5 separate regions of the Homo sapiens genome follow, and all the other regions are linked to region 3. The links are contacts of gene promoters, found by promoter capture Hi-C in blood cells and fetal thymus (Javierre and others, 2016). All regions are on one chromosome and are shown on one strand. Each heading gives the region's core, a stretch centred on a gene start or on the middle of the fragment in contact. The rest is flanking DNA. Distances are from core to core; before and after follow the strand shown.

Region 1 (2,700 bases), core at 64-2,563, 130 kb after region 3:
GACACAGAAGCCAGATGGGGTGTGCAGAATGCTCTTCAAAGAACATCTTCATGGGTTCTTGCCGACCACTCTGTCCCTCTGCTTTCAGGATTGTCCTCCTCCTGCTTTGACCACATCTGTTCCAGACTTTCTGTCTGATGCTAGGGCTGCTGGCTAGAAGCTGTGGGAGGTAGGCTTCAGTGCCTTATAGCAGCAACTTTGAAGCAACTTAACACTTATAGACCATGACTCACATCTGTAATCCTAGCACTTTGGGAGGCTGAGGTGGGCAGATCACTTGAGGCCAGGAGTTTGAGATCAGCCTGGCCAAGATGGCACAATCCCATTTCTACAAAAAAATAAATAAATGAAATTAGCCATGCGTGGTGGTACATGCCTGTAATCCCAGCCACTTGGGTGGCTGAGGCATAAGAATCGCTTGAATTCGGGAGGTGGAGGTTGCAGTGAGCCAAGATCACACCACTGCACTCCAGCCTGGGTGACAGCAAGACTCTGTCTCACAAAAAAAAAAAAAAAAACGGCCGGGCGCTGTGGCTCACGCCTGTAATCCCAGCACTTTGGGAGGCCGAGGCAGGTGGATCACGAGGTCAGGAGATCGAGACCATCCTGGCTAACATGGTGAAATCCTGTCTCTACTAAAAATACAAAAAATTAGCTGAGCGTGGTGGCGGGTGCCTGTAGTCCCGCTACTCAGGAGGCTGAGGCTGGAGAATGGTGTAAACCCGGCAGGCAGAGCTTGCAGTGAGCCGAGATTGCGTCACTGCACTCCAGCCTGGGCGACAGAGCAAGACTCCGTCTCAAAAAATAAAAAAAATAAAAAAACATAAAACCAAAAAAAATCTTACACTTCCAGTCATACAAAGGTCTGACTGCTCATCTTGTAGCGGCTTCCATCTCACTGGAGGTTCCACTGATGTTTCCAGAGTGCCCACTGCATGCCAGGCACTGTGCTATGTAATTTAAACTTTGTTCCTTGCATTGAGTCACCGTGTAAAATTCTATCATGTAGGTTTGAGGATCCCTATATTACAGATAAGACTCCTGAGTCTCAGATTATGTGACCTGCCCATGGTCACACACCAGAGTATTGAGAAACTAAGATTCAAACTCAGATCTTCTGACTCCAAGGCCATCCTGTCATGTAGCTGAATGGCCATTCCTCAGGATTAGTAAGTAATATGTTGGAAGAAATTACCTCTGAGGGTCTTTCTGATCCTAAGAGCACTTTGATTATTCCTTTATGATTTATTTATCCATCTACCCATTTTTTCCCCATCTAGACTATAGGCATGTTGAAAGCAAGGATAGCATCTTCACAGCAAATAAATAATACAATGTTTGGAAACCACCTATCTGATGCTATCTACTTCTCTGACACATAGAAACAGGAGAAAAGATATAACCCATTAACAAAAGAGTCACCCAGAAATTCCAATCCCAAGAGCTTACCACCTAGAATTCCTTCTACATGTACACATAAATGTGAATAAGGGTAGAGTTTTTTCCATTATTACGTATAAGTGAAAAATTGGAAACAAAGTTTCCAGGTGGGAAAATGATGATACATCTGTACCTTCCAATCTTATGAAGCCTTAAAAAGAATGAATTAGAGGTCAACCATGGTGGCTCACACCTGTAATCCCAGTACTTTGGGAGGCCAAGGCGGGTGGATTGTTTGAGGTCAGGAGTTCAAGACCAGCCTGACCAACATGGTGAAACCCCGTCTCTACTAAAAATACAAAAATTAGCCGGATGTGGTGGCTGACGCCTGTAACTCGGAAGGTTGAGGCAGGAGGATCACTTGAACTCGGGAGACGGAGGTTGCAGTGAGCCAAGAATGGGCTGCTGCGCTCCAGCCTGGGCGACAGAGCGAGACTCCGTCTCAAAAAAAAAAAAAAAAAAAAGAAAAGAAAAGAAATAAATCTAAATGTGCTGAGATGGAATAGTATTCATAGTATCTTAAGTGAAAGATACAATTTGTATGACATTACATGTGTATAATCCATGTTTCTTTTAAAAATAGTCCCAAACTAGGCCAGGCACGGTGGCTCACGCCTGTAATCCCAGCACTTTGGGAGGCCGAGGCGGCTGGATCACGAGGTCAGGAGATCAAGACCATCCTAGCTAACACGGTGAAACCCCGTCTCTACTAAAAATACAAAAAAAAAAAAAAGTCCCAAACTATATGTTTATATATGTATAGTAATTGGAACTAGAAGGATTTACATGAAACTTAAGTGTTTTTTATGTTGCAGAGAGGACGGGACGGTGCCGGGATTTTTTTTCTATATACAATTTTGTTTTGTTTACATTTTTACAATGAACAATTATTTTGGTATTGGAAAAAAATTTTTGAGATGGAGTCTCACTCTGTTGCCCAAGCTGGGGTGCAGTGGTGCAATCTCGGCTCATTACAACCTCTACCTCCTGGGCTCAAGTGATTCTCCTGCGTTAGCCTCCAAAGTAGCTGGGATTACAGGTGCCCACCACCACACCCAGCTAATTTTTGTATTTTTAGTAGAGACGAGATTTCCCCATGTTGGCCAGGCTGGTCTTGAACTCCTGACCTCAAGTGATCCACCCACCTCGGCCTCCCAAGGTGATGGGATTACAGTCATGAGCCACTGCACCTGGCCTGAAAAAAAATTTTTAAGCAAGGTTAAAGATCACATATAAGAAAGGCAGGAGAGGCTAGCTAGG
Region 2 (2,774 bases), core at 22-2,521, 210 kb after region 3:
TTAGTTAGAGGAGGGAGCCAGGGCCAGGGCGTCGGGGGTGGGGAGAGTGAGAGTGAGCAGCTCTTCCTCTCCCTACTTCTGCCTTATGCAGGGTCTTGGAGACCCCTGAGTCTGCTCTGGAGCCCCCACCCCACTGAACATGTTGACTGTTTCCAGGCTCGGCCTGAGCTGCTGGTTCCCTCCCAGAGACCTATTCCCCAGCGACCCCGCTCCAATTCCCCAGGTAGGCACAGAGGGGGGTGGTTCCAGATTTTGCTCCACCCCTAGCCTGGGCGACCCACCCGTCCTGACCCCACCCTCCCTCATCTTACTCCCTTCAGTGGCTTGGAAAGGATGCCCCAAGATAAAGACCCACAGGCACCCTGGCTCTGACATATGGCGGGGTAGAAACACAGATACCTCCTGGCCATGATCCGACAACCCCATTCCCCGCAGCCCAGGCGCCCAACAAATCAGGACCCAACACCTCCAGCAGGTCTCCCGCTCCCGGGAGGTTGTAACCCTTTCATCTTTGACTCCAGACACAGAAAGGCAGATGCCCCAGACCCGCGCCCGGTGGCTGGGCCTGCGTGCAGTGGGGAAGGGGGCGACCCGGGACCCCTGTGCGTGCCCCGCTCCCAACTTCTTCACAGGACATACTTGTTTAGACCTTAAGACCCAGCTGGGGTGGAGGCGTCTTAGGGAGGGAGACCGGGCGATAACTGAAGAAAGTTTTGGGGGGAGAGTGCTAAGTCACTCTGAAAAAAAGGCCACTGTCGCTCCCACCTCCTGGAGGGGGCAGCTGCCGGACCGGGGATCTCCAAGCGGCACCTGAGTCCCCGGGGGCGGGGACGCGCGCCCAGCCCCTGCCGCGCCCCTGCCGCCCCCCGCCCGCGCCCGACCCGCCTCCGGGTCGCACTCACCAGGGCGCGGTTGAACCTCTCCTCCAGCTCTCCGGCCGCGGGCATCGGCTGCTTGGGAGGCGCGGGCTGCTTGGGGGGCGGCGCGGCGGGGCCCGCGGGCTGCTCGGCGCTGCCGGCCGCGTTGCCCATGGTGGTCCCCACCCAGCCGGCCAGGCGCCTCCAGCCTCGGAAATCCAGCTTTCCGGGGGACGGGGACGAGGCTCCCGGCCCGGGCGGGGGCGAGGGGGCAGCGGCTGGCGGTGGCGGCGGGGGTCTCGGCAGCGGGGGGCGCTCGGCTCAGCGGCGCGCAGGGGCCGGAGCGCGGCGTCCCATCGGGGCGGCCCCGTCCGTGGGACCGGGCGGCGAGCTGCAGGGTTGGGGGAGGAAGTCAGGCTGCAGGCCGCCGGGGCCAGAGGGCTGGGCCGGGGGCAGGAAGCTGCGGCGCTGGCTCCCCCCTCGGCGATTTTCGAACTTCTGCTGTCGCTCCCCGTGCGCGCAAACCGCAGTTCGCCGCCGCCGCCGCCGGGCACCCAGCCCCAGGGGGGCGGGCTGGAGGGAGGGGGCGGGCGCTGGCCGGGGGACCCCCGCAACCATGGCGGGCGGGGAGTGGGCTGCCGAGCCGCTTCACCTGCCGCAGAGGGGGCGGCCGGCGCCGCTTCACCTGCCGGAGCGGGAGGCCACCGAGGCGAGGCCGAGGCGGCGGCGCGCTCGGCGGCGCCTCCGGGTCCTAGAACCGCATCCTCCCGCTCGCCTCGGGCGAGGGATTGGCCGGGTCTGGGTGAAGGGGATCACGGCCTGGGGATTGGAGGGGCACATCTTCTCCGCACCGAGGATCTCAGCGACTGCGAGCACGGCTCGGAGACCCACGGTGGTGCAGCGTTGGGGCGCCAGGGCTGCGTTCCCGTCTCGCGTCCCGGACTGAGAAGGTGGGAACCCCCTTCCAGGCCCCCCACCTTTTATTTCTCTCCTCCCCTGCTTAGCCCAGAGACGAGCTGAGGACGAGGGGGAGCCATCTCCAAACAGGAACTCCTAAACAGGGTGGGGGGCGCGGACGCAGGCCAGTGGAGACCCCCGCCACCTGTCCCACCTCGACCAACCGTGCGCCTGTGCAGGGCACCCCTACAGGTTTTAGAATGGGGGCACCTATGGAATATGGCAGGCTGCGAGAAGCTGGGCCCGCCAAGGTGGTCCCAAGGAGGAGTGGGGGGTTGCGGAAAGGAGGATGAGAGCCAGCCACAAGGCTGGAAAAGGAGTGGGCACCGCAGAGGAGGGAAAAAGAATCTTGACACTGTCACCGCCAGGGATCTAGGGGGGCCTCTTACCTTGGAGAATAACAATCTCTGATGTCTGCTAATTACAGAAATACTTTCAGAGCTCTTTCATTCATCCTGACAATGGCCAGAGAAGGTAGGTATTGGTAGCCTTATTTTAGAGATGGGGAAACTGAGGCTGAGAGTAGGTAAGTAAGCTGTCCAAGGGCACTCAGCTAACAAAGGACAGAAGCAAGCCTCCTCACTGTCTACCTCCAAAACCTACACTGGCTTGGAGTTGCTGTCCTGGCCCTCCACTGCCCATCTCATGTAGGACGGGAGAGTATGGGGGGCTGGGGTCCCATCTATAGCCTGAATTTGAGACTTTCAGTTGCTCCTCTCATTCCCCATTTAATTTGTGGGGATCCCCAACTGACCCCTCCCTACACTTCCAGGGCACTGAGGAGGGAGGGCCCGCTGAAGGAGCCCCGAATTATCTCTAGGCCAGGTCAGGAGCCATTAGTGTCCCCTCCCCTGACAGCATCCTCCTCCTTCTGCCCTCACATTCAGAGCCACTGACAAGACTTTAAGCAAGAGACGGAGAGTTAACATCTAATCTGGAGGAAGACCCTGGAAGGAGCCA
Region 3 (2,700 bases), core at 17-2,516:
TGTTTTTTGAGACGGAGTCTTGCTCTGTCGCCCAGGCTGAAGTGCAGTGGCACGATCATGGCTCACGGCAGTCTCCGCCTCCCAGGTTCACACCATTCTCCTGCCTCAGCCTCCGGAGTAGCTGGGACTACAGGCTCCCGCCACCACGCCCGGCTAATGTTTTATATTTTTAGTAGAGACGGGGTTTCACCGTGTTAGCCGGGGTTTCACCGTGTTAGCCAGGGTTTCTCAATCTCCTGACCTCATGATCCGCCCGCCTCGGCCTCCCAAAGTGCTGGGATTATAGGCGTGAGCCACCGTGCCCGGCACCAGCCACTATTTTCTAAGCATGTCGGGCACCAAAGACCAGTGCTGAGTTCTGCTGTGTGCCCACCCTGGAGGGTCCCAAGGTGCCACCAAGGCTCAGACACACAGATTCTCAGAGGAAGTGTGGACTCACAGGTGGGCAATGCCTAGCAGAGGCAAAGATATAGAGGTAAGGGAGTTCCTTACTTACTATATCTTACAAAGATATAGAGGTAAGGGAGTTCCTTACTTACTATATCTTACAAAGATATAGAGGTAAGGGAGTTCCTCTGAATCTGGGTGGCCAGATTCAGCTTCCCACCCAACCCTGGGTCCCCAGGAGGTGGTGTCAAGAGAGGCCATGGCCTGGGATGCGGGCCCTTCTTCCTCCCAGAACACTGGCCTGAATCAGCCAGCTCTTGGCACACACAGCCAGGTCCACAGGCACAACTGTTCCTTGGGGCCCCTGAGGGCAGGGGGTGTGCTGGGGCTGTGGCTTGTAATGTCTGGAGTGAGTGCAGGCTCAGATCAGGGCGAGGCTGCTTGTCCAGAGAGGCAGAAAATTCTCCAACAGAAGACCCCCAAGGCGGAGGGCCCTGGGGCTGGACTCCTGGAGGTTGTTCTGAGCTTACCCTGTGGACGGATTGGAGGGTGGCCCTCCTTCCCCACAAGGATCAAGAGGGGGTGGGGGATGGTGGGAGGGCAATCTGGCCAGGCGAACCTGCGGGGGAGGCTCCCGCCCTCCCCAGTCCCACCATCTCAGCCCCGCAGCCTCTTTCTCCCTGGAGACAGCCAGGTGCGGCCCAGGATCCCGGGAAAGGCAGGGGAGGGGGTGGCGTCTTCGCTCCTCAGGCGCTGGCCCGGCCCAGAGGGGACAGGAAGCCAGGACACCGGGGATTGTCTCTCGCAACCGCAGCCCAGCCCCAGTCCGGGAGGAAGTTCTGCCCGGCGCTCTCCGCCGGTGCCTCCCTGGTTATATTGTTGAACAGGAAACCCGGCAGCGCGGGAGCCGCACAGTCGAGGAGGGAGCGCGGGACGCCGAGCCCACGCGCGCCTGCCGGGGCAAGTGGAGGCGAAGCCGGCGAGCGGACGCCCCGAGGTGCCCGGGCAGGCAGGGTCGGGAGTGGGGCGCCGAGCGGGGGTTGGGGGTGGGAAGTGGGGTGGGGGTGGGGAAAGGGCAGGGTTGGGAAGGGAAGGGTGCGGCAGGTGGCGGGTCCGCACCCGGGAGCTCCGCGCGCCTGCTCCCCTTGTCTCCGCGCTGGGGCGGGAGCTGCGCGGGCCGCATCCCACGGGGAGGAGAAGGTAGGCGAAGGGCTGCCCTCCATCTGGGGGCTGGAGGGAAGCAGGCCCAGGCCCCCAGCGCCGACCCAGGCGTTGACGCCCCTGTAGCTTGAGTCGCCTGGGCAGTGGACGCAGGGGACCTCCTGGCGACTGGTGCGCTGTCGCGCTCCAGGGATCCTCCCGGCTTCCCCAATCCCTCCCCTTCTCTGCGTTTCCCCAGGGTCGGGGAAGGAACCGAGGTCCGGTCCCCTTCTTATCCAGCCCGAGACATCGAGCTCCGGTGGGCGTCCCTGCGCTGGGAATCCCGCTCGGAGTTTTTCCAGGCCCGGCCGGGCTGCTCCGGGAAAGGCCCTGGTGAGGGAAGAGGTGGGCCCGGAGCGGGCGGATTTGCAATCCGGTTGGAAGGGCTCGCAGTGGGTGATTCAGGGTGCAAATGACCTCCCCGGGAACAGGAACGCCCGCACGAGACAACCAGCCCCAGCCCGGCATTCCCAGAGCCGCGCACAGGAGGGACGCAGGCACTCCCGGACAGCAAATCCCGGGGGGTGGGGGGTGGGGGGGCGGGGAATAGAGGGGGAAGGCGGAGCGGGGGCGGTCCCATCCTCCTTGGGCTCCGCTCGCGACCTGCCAGTGCCCCTTCAGACGCAGCAGTCCCGGCTCCAGGTGCCGGCCTTCTGCTCTGGGCCTCGTCCCAATGCCCCCCAAGGTCCCCAGCAGAGGCATTCAGGCTCCTCCTCGCCCCACCCAGACACGGCTGCTTTGGGTATCGGTGACAGCACTCCTGAGCGTCCCTGTCCCTCTTCGCTCTGCTTGCCAGCTCCTGTTCCGCGCAGCCTCTCCGGCCTCGCCCCTGGAAACCCCGCCCAGGGCGATGGTAGGGGCCTAACCTGCAGCCACCGCCGGCTCCGCCCACCCAGCCCATGGGCTCCCTGAGGCCCGCCCAGCCGACGTGAGTGCGCTGCGGGGTCCAAGGGGAGGGGGCGCCGGGGGAGTGTCCTGCTTGGGGTTTGTTGGTTCAGCACCGGGCAGCTCGATGACCCCGCCTCCGGGGCCCAGCGTGCTTAGTGACTCAGTTTACACCCTTTCCTCGTCGAGGAACGCTTGACAAAGTGGCGGAGGAGCCCTGCTGGGGCC
Region 4 (2,500 bases), core at 1-2,500, 190 kb after region 3:
GGCCACCAGCAGAGAACCAGTAACCCAGCCTGACCACAGGCCCTGATGGGAGGCACAGGGGAAGCACAGGGAGCCTGGAGGAGGAGGGCCGCCTAACCCGGGGGATCCAGACTTGGGGCCACAAGAGCTAAAGGAAGAGCTGAACTGGCCAGCGGTAAAAAGGAGAAAGGAAAAGACATTCCAGGCAGAGGAAACAGAATGGAACAATGGCCTAGAGGCAAGAGAATACATCCTTTTGGAAAACTGGAAGTGGAATCAGGAGGGCTGAAGCCTTGGCTGCCTGTGGGAAAGTGGAAGGAAAGAGGCCTGGAGGCAGAAGAAGTGGGGTGAGGGGAGGCACCCCTCTGCAGGGATGGAGGGGAAGGCGTTTGGGAAAGCAGGATTCTGCCTGTTAGAGGTATTGGTCCAGTCTGGCTTAATGCCCATCCCTGGGCCTCCCCCTCCTCATCTGTGAAATGGCTTGGAGAAAATGACTACCCCCAGGGCCCAGCCTGATCCAGGCAACTCCCCTCTTCCTCCGGTGCCCACATGGGGAGCCAGGCAGGGCCACTCACCTGCAGCACCTTCTCATCATTGAGCTCTGTGAAGACAGTGCCGGTGATCTGGCTGGGTTTCAGTGCCACCCAGTTCAAGAGTGGCATTCGGAACTTAGTCTGGATGGGCTTCTTGGCCTTCACTCCTGGGACGGGGGTTTGGGGGCAGTGGTGAGCACTGGGGGTACTACTGGAGGGAACCTGGGCCCAGGGAGGGCTGATGGGGCAGCCAGGAGGCAGCAGGAGGCCCCCAGGCAGAGGACCCTGGAGGACACTGAGGCCCAGGCCCCTCCCTCCATCTCCCCCCAGCCCCGGGCCCAAGGTGGTCCACTCCACTCACCTGGGCCCAATTCTGAGTCGCGTCTTCCTAGGGCATCAGGAGGACCTCCGGGAGGCGGCGGCGGCGGCGGCGGCGGCGGAGGCACCGGCCCGTCAGTGCCCGGAGGTGGTGGCGGTGGCGGGGGTGGGGGCGGCAGGTCTCCGGGCAGCGGCGGCGCAGGCGGGGGCTCCGGGCTGCCAGGGAGAGGCGGGGCCTGTGGGGGCGCAGAGGGCGGGGCTTCCTGCGGGGAGGGGAGGCCGGGCAGTGGGGGCGGCGGCGGTGGCGCTGCTCCGGGAGCCGGCTCTGCTGCAGGTGCGAGATCTGAGCCAGCGAGGGCGCGGCGTGGGGGAGGCGCGAGTCAGCTCCTTGACTTGGGTGGGCCCCTCTCCGCCTCTCCGCTCTACGCATGCGCTCCTACCTGAGCCGAGCCTACAATCCAAACCTCCCTCGCCCAACTCTGCCCGCCACAGATGCCCCTGGGCTCCCCTCCAGACCCTGCCCCGCATCCCCGCCAGCCTGAAGCTCCTGCGCACCTGGGCTGGGGGAGCCGGTCGGCACCCCCGGAGTCGGAGCATCACCGCCGCTCGGAGTTGCCACAGCGACGGGGAGGATCTCGATGGAGACAGCATCCCCCGGCCCCCGCAGAATACGGATTAACCCCTTCTCCTCCAGCTCCTCCACCTTCAGCTCCAGGGCCGAGGGCCGCGTCGGGGCAGCGGGAGGCGCTTTCTCAGGCTCTGGGGGACGCCTGGAGGGCCCCATGGCGGTCGATTCGCTGAAGCGCTCCTACGAACCCCACGGGAGGGGTCAGTGCCCACCAGCAGGCTCCTTGGCACCAAGCCTCCATCTTCTTCCCGGGGTGGAGGGAGATGTCAAGCCTAGAAGCCTCAGCTGGCCTGTTCTTGGGCGCCTGGCCTACCACCCGCCCCAGCCTCACCCGCAGGGTCTCCAACTCCTTGCGCGCCTGGCTTAGCTGTTTTTCCAGTTCTGCAATCTTGGCCATGGATTCGTTCTCCGCGTCCCGAAGCCGCTCTGTCAGCTGTAGCACCAGCACATGGTGAGCCCCGACCCGCAGCCCGGCACTGGCACCGCCGGTGAGGGGGCGGCATCAGGCATGCCTGCCTGGAAGACTGGGGGAGGCTCCCAGATCCGCTCAGCCCAGGTGCCAAGGGTGGGCCGAGCCTGGCACTCGAACCCAAGCAAATAAGGAGAGGAAACCAAGGTACCAGTGATGCGGGAGGTGGAGGGAGAGGAGGAGACTGAGCTGGGAGGGGCCCCAGGCACCCATTTCAGTTCACCTGGGGTCTGAGCCTGGGTAGAGGAGGGGCCTGTCAGTGAGGGTGCTCACCCACACTCATTGAGAAAGACACCCAACAGATTCAGGCTTTGGATTCAGGCCAGGCTCTGGGGCCAGGCAGGCAGCACCTCCAATGCACAATTATAACACTGTCTGCTGCCCAGTGCCCATGCTTGCGTGGCCCTGTGGCCCGTGTGCCCTGTGGGCCTATGATGTGCTGGGCTGGGGTCAGGACCCACTCTCACCAGCGCCACTTGCTCCTGCAGTTCCTCCATGTGCTCCAGCACAGCGTTCTTGGTCTCTGTGTCCTCCAGCAGCGCCCCCACATCAAAAATATTGTCCAGGTACGCC
Region 5 (2,700 bases), core at 169-2,668, 230 kb after region 3:
TTTTTTTTTTTTTCGAGACAGAGTCTCATTGTGTCACCCAGGCTGGAATGCAATGACCCAATCTCGGCTCACTGCAACCTCCGCCTCCCAGGTTCAAATGATTCTCCTACCTCAGTCTCCCAAGTAGCTGGAATTACAGGCATGCGCCACCACACCGAGCTAATTTTTGTATTTTTAGTAGAGACTGGGTTTTGCCATGTTGACCAGGCTGGTCTTGAACTCCTGACCTCAAGTAATCCTCCCGCCTCAGCCTCCCAAAGTGCTGGGATTATAGGCATGAGCCACTGCGCCTGGCCATTATTCCATAAATATTGATGGAGGGCCAACTGCATGCCCAGTGCCGAGGGATAGAGAAGAATTAGACCCCAACCTGCCTAAAAAGAGCTCACGGCCTGGGAAAGGAGTATGAGGGGAGGTCTGTTTGCCCTAGGGGCTGCTGAGGAAGAAACACTAAGCCCAGATCCATTCCTGACATAATTCTGCCTGGACATCCACTGAGTCAGGGTCAGAGACTCAGGGCTGCCCTCCTGGGTTGTTGAAGGAGAGGCAAAGTTGAAACCACTAGAAGGTGGGGCTCCTCCAGGGGAAAGACCAATTCCAGGCACCCCATCTGAGGACAAAAGCTGAGAGAACATCTTCACTGGGGTGTGGGGAGTATACAAGAAATACCAGGACCAGGCCGGGTGTGGTGGCTCATGCCTGTAATCCCAGCACTTTGGGAGGCCAAGGCGGCTAGATCAGCTGAGGTCAGGAGTTCTGGAGACCAGCCTGGCCAACATGGTGAAACTCTGTCTCTACTAAAAATACAATAATAAGCTGGGCGTGGTGGTGGGCGCCTGTAATCCCAGCTACCTGGGAGGCTCAGGCAAGAGGATCACTTGAATCCGGGAGGCGGAGGTCACGGTGAGCCGAGATCATGCCACTGCACTCCAGCCTGGGCAATAGAGTGAGACTCAGTCTCAAAAAAAAAAAAAAAAAAGAAAGAAAAGAAAAGAAAAAAAGACCAGGACCTGCAGAATTTTCCTGACAAGCCACCACCTGCAAAGCTGGCTCCACAGTGGATCCACCTCTGTACCTCCCAGAGCAGCCGGCATTCTGTCATTTTTGTTGAAGGAAATGGGCAGAGACTGGGACAGCCAAGCGCGGCCTTCTGTGGTTTTAGGGAGAAGGGCGGGTGAGCCAGTCCGTTGCCCTGAGAAGAGGTCAAGAGGATGAAGACTATGAAAGCGACTGAGTTGGGCAATTAGGGGTCCCTAGTGGCCTTCAAAAAGAATGCTTTCAACAGCAGCTGCTGAAATTTCAAGGGCAAGTTCGGTAGCGGGAGGGGAAGAGGGAGAGAGAGAATGCAGAGCCTAAGCCAGCCATCAGCAGAGTGAAGACACACGCATAATTCATGATGTCCTTCTTAACTTGTTTTGAAAATCTGATTTTTTTGACAGACAACTCAGGGGTTAATCAACCTCAGAGGTTCAGAAGTTCCATGAATCCCTTAAAGTGGAGAGAACTCCACCCAAACAATATAATATTGCTTATATTTGCACCAGGGAGACATAGCCTGAATCTATCCATAAGGAAATACCAGACAAACCTCAAATAAGGTGCATTCGATTAAAAGGAAAAATGTGTGGGGGAGTCCTACTCTGAAAAAATGTCATGAAAGATGAAAAAGATGAGGAATTGCCCCAGATTAAAGAAGCCTAGGCCAGCATGGTGGCTCACACCTGTAATCCCAACACTTTGGGAGGCTGAGATGGGCAGATGGCCTGAAGCCAGAAATTCGAGACCAGCCTGGCCAATATGCCAAAACCCCATCTCTACTAAAAGTACAAAAATTAGCTGGGTGTGGTGGCGTGCACCTGTAATCCCAGCTACTCAGGTGGCTGAGGCAGGAGAATCACTTGAACCCAGTTGAGCCGATATCGCACCACTGCACTCCAGCCTGGGCAATAAGAGCAAAACTCAGTCTCAAAAAATAAAAATAAATAAAAAATAAAGAAGCCTAAATATCTGGGTGTGGTGGCTCATGCCTGAAATCCCAGCAAGCACTTTGGGGGCTGAGGCAGGAGGATTGCTTGAGCCCAGGAGTTCAAGACCAGCCTGAGCAACATAGGGAGACCCCTGTCTCTACAAAAAATAGAAAAATGGCTGGGCGTGGTGGCTCATGCCTGTAATCTCAGTATTTTGGGAGGCCGAGGTGGGCAGATCACGAGGTCAGGAGATCGAGACCATCATGGCCAACACGATGAAACCCCATCTCTACTAAAAATACAAAAATTAGCTGGGCATGGTGGCAAGTGCCTGTAATCCCAGCTACTCCAGAGGTTGAGGCAGGAGAATTGCTTGAACCCAAGAGGCGGAGGTTGCAGTGAGCCAAGATCGCGCCACTGCACTCCAGCCTGGCGACAGAGCAAGAGTCCGTCTCAAAAAAAAAAAAAAGAAGAAGAAGAAGAAAAATGGCCGGACACAGTGGTTCACGCCTGTAATCCCAGCACTTTGGGAGGCCGAGGTGGGTAGATCAGCCTGGGCAACATAGTGAGACCTCATTTCTTTTTTTTCTTTTTCTTTTTTTTTTTTTTTGAGACGGAATCACGCTCTGTCACCCAGGCTGGAGTTCAGTTGCGTGATCTCAGCTCACTGCAAGCTCCACCTCCCGGGTTCATGCTATTCTCCTGCCTCAGCCTTCCGAGTAGCTAGGACTAC

The links. Contacts are between HindIII fragments. The CHiCAGO score rates a contact against its expected background, and 5 or more counts as called.
Region 1: a contact is called between a fragment that was not itself captured here and the fragment with the promoter of ARHGAP27 in region 3, in 1 of 17 cell types (neutrophils). The highest score is 5.1, in neutrophils.
Region 2: the fragment with the promoter of FMNL1 here is called in contact with the fragment with the promoter of ARHGAP27 in region 3 in 11 of 17 cell types (monocytes, endothelial precursors, neutrophils and 8 more); the score reaches 21.0 in monocytes.
Region 4: the fragment with the promoter of FMNL1-AS1 here is called in contact with the fragment with the promoter of ARHGAP27 in region 3 in 3 of 17 cell types (neutrophils, monocytes and activated CD4 T cells); the score reaches 13.5 in neutrophils.
Region 5: a fragment that was not itself captured here is called in contact with the fragment with the promoter of ARHGAP27 in region 3 in 1 of 17 cell types (neutrophils); the score reaches 5.8 in neutrophils.

The regions. Positions count from the first base shown.
Region 1 is chr17:45,303,215-45,305,914 of GRCh38, reverse strand. The region is part of intron 1 of MAP3K14 (mitogen-activated protein kinase kinase kinase 14); the gene reads left to right. Among named protein-coding and RNA genes, the nearest start is that of MAP3K14, 12 kb to the left of the region's middle. The HindIII fragment of the contact is 3,452 bases long and covers 1-2,700 here.
Region 2 is chr17:45,220,382-45,223,155 of GRCh38, reverse strand. FMNL1 (formin like 1) reads right to left here and starts at 1,271. Exons shown (of 27, transcript NM_005892.4): 1 at 903-1,271. The coding sequence starts at 1,031. FMNL1-DT (FMNL1 divergent transcript) reads left to right here and starts at 1,391. Exons shown (of 3, transcript NR_147507.1): 1 at 1,391-1,807; 2 at 2,702-2,774. RefSeq lists enhancers at 1-232, 233-733 and silencers at 580-874, 797-906, 1,187-1,236, 1,247-1,696. The HindIII fragment of the contact is 10,145 bases long and covers 1-2,774 here.
Region 3 is chr17:45,431,436-45,434,135 of GRCh38, reverse strand. It overlaps ARHGAP27 (Rho GTPase activating protein 27), which reads left to right and starts at 1,266. Exons shown (of 20, transcript NM_001282290.2): 1 at 1,266-1,384; 2 at 1,787-1,920; 3 at 2,384-2,515. The HindIII fragment of the contact is 25,899 bases long and covers 1-2,700 here.
Region 4 is chr17:45,240,520-45,243,019 of GRCh38, reverse strand. FMNL1-AS1 (FMNL1 antisense RNA 1) reads left to right here and starts at 1,250. Exons shown (of 3, transcript NR_186808.1): 1 at 1,250-1,909; 2 at 2,416-2,500. FMNL1 (formin like 1) reads right to left here. Exons shown (of 27, transcript NM_005892.4): 12 at 2,395-2,500; 13 at 1,790-1,891; 14 at 1,386-1,638; 15 at 874-1,173; 16 at 555-679. RefSeq lists an enhancer at 1,140-1,858. The HindIII fragment of the contact is 17,531 bases long and covers 1-2,500 here.
Region 5 is chr17:45,199,396-45,202,095 of GRCh38, reverse strand. The region is part of intron 2 of FMNL1-DT (FMNL1 divergent transcript); the gene reads left to right. Among named protein-coding and RNA genes, the nearest start is that of FMNL1-DT, 21 kb to the left of the region's middle. The HindIII fragment of the contact is 4,769 bases long and covers 1-2,700 here.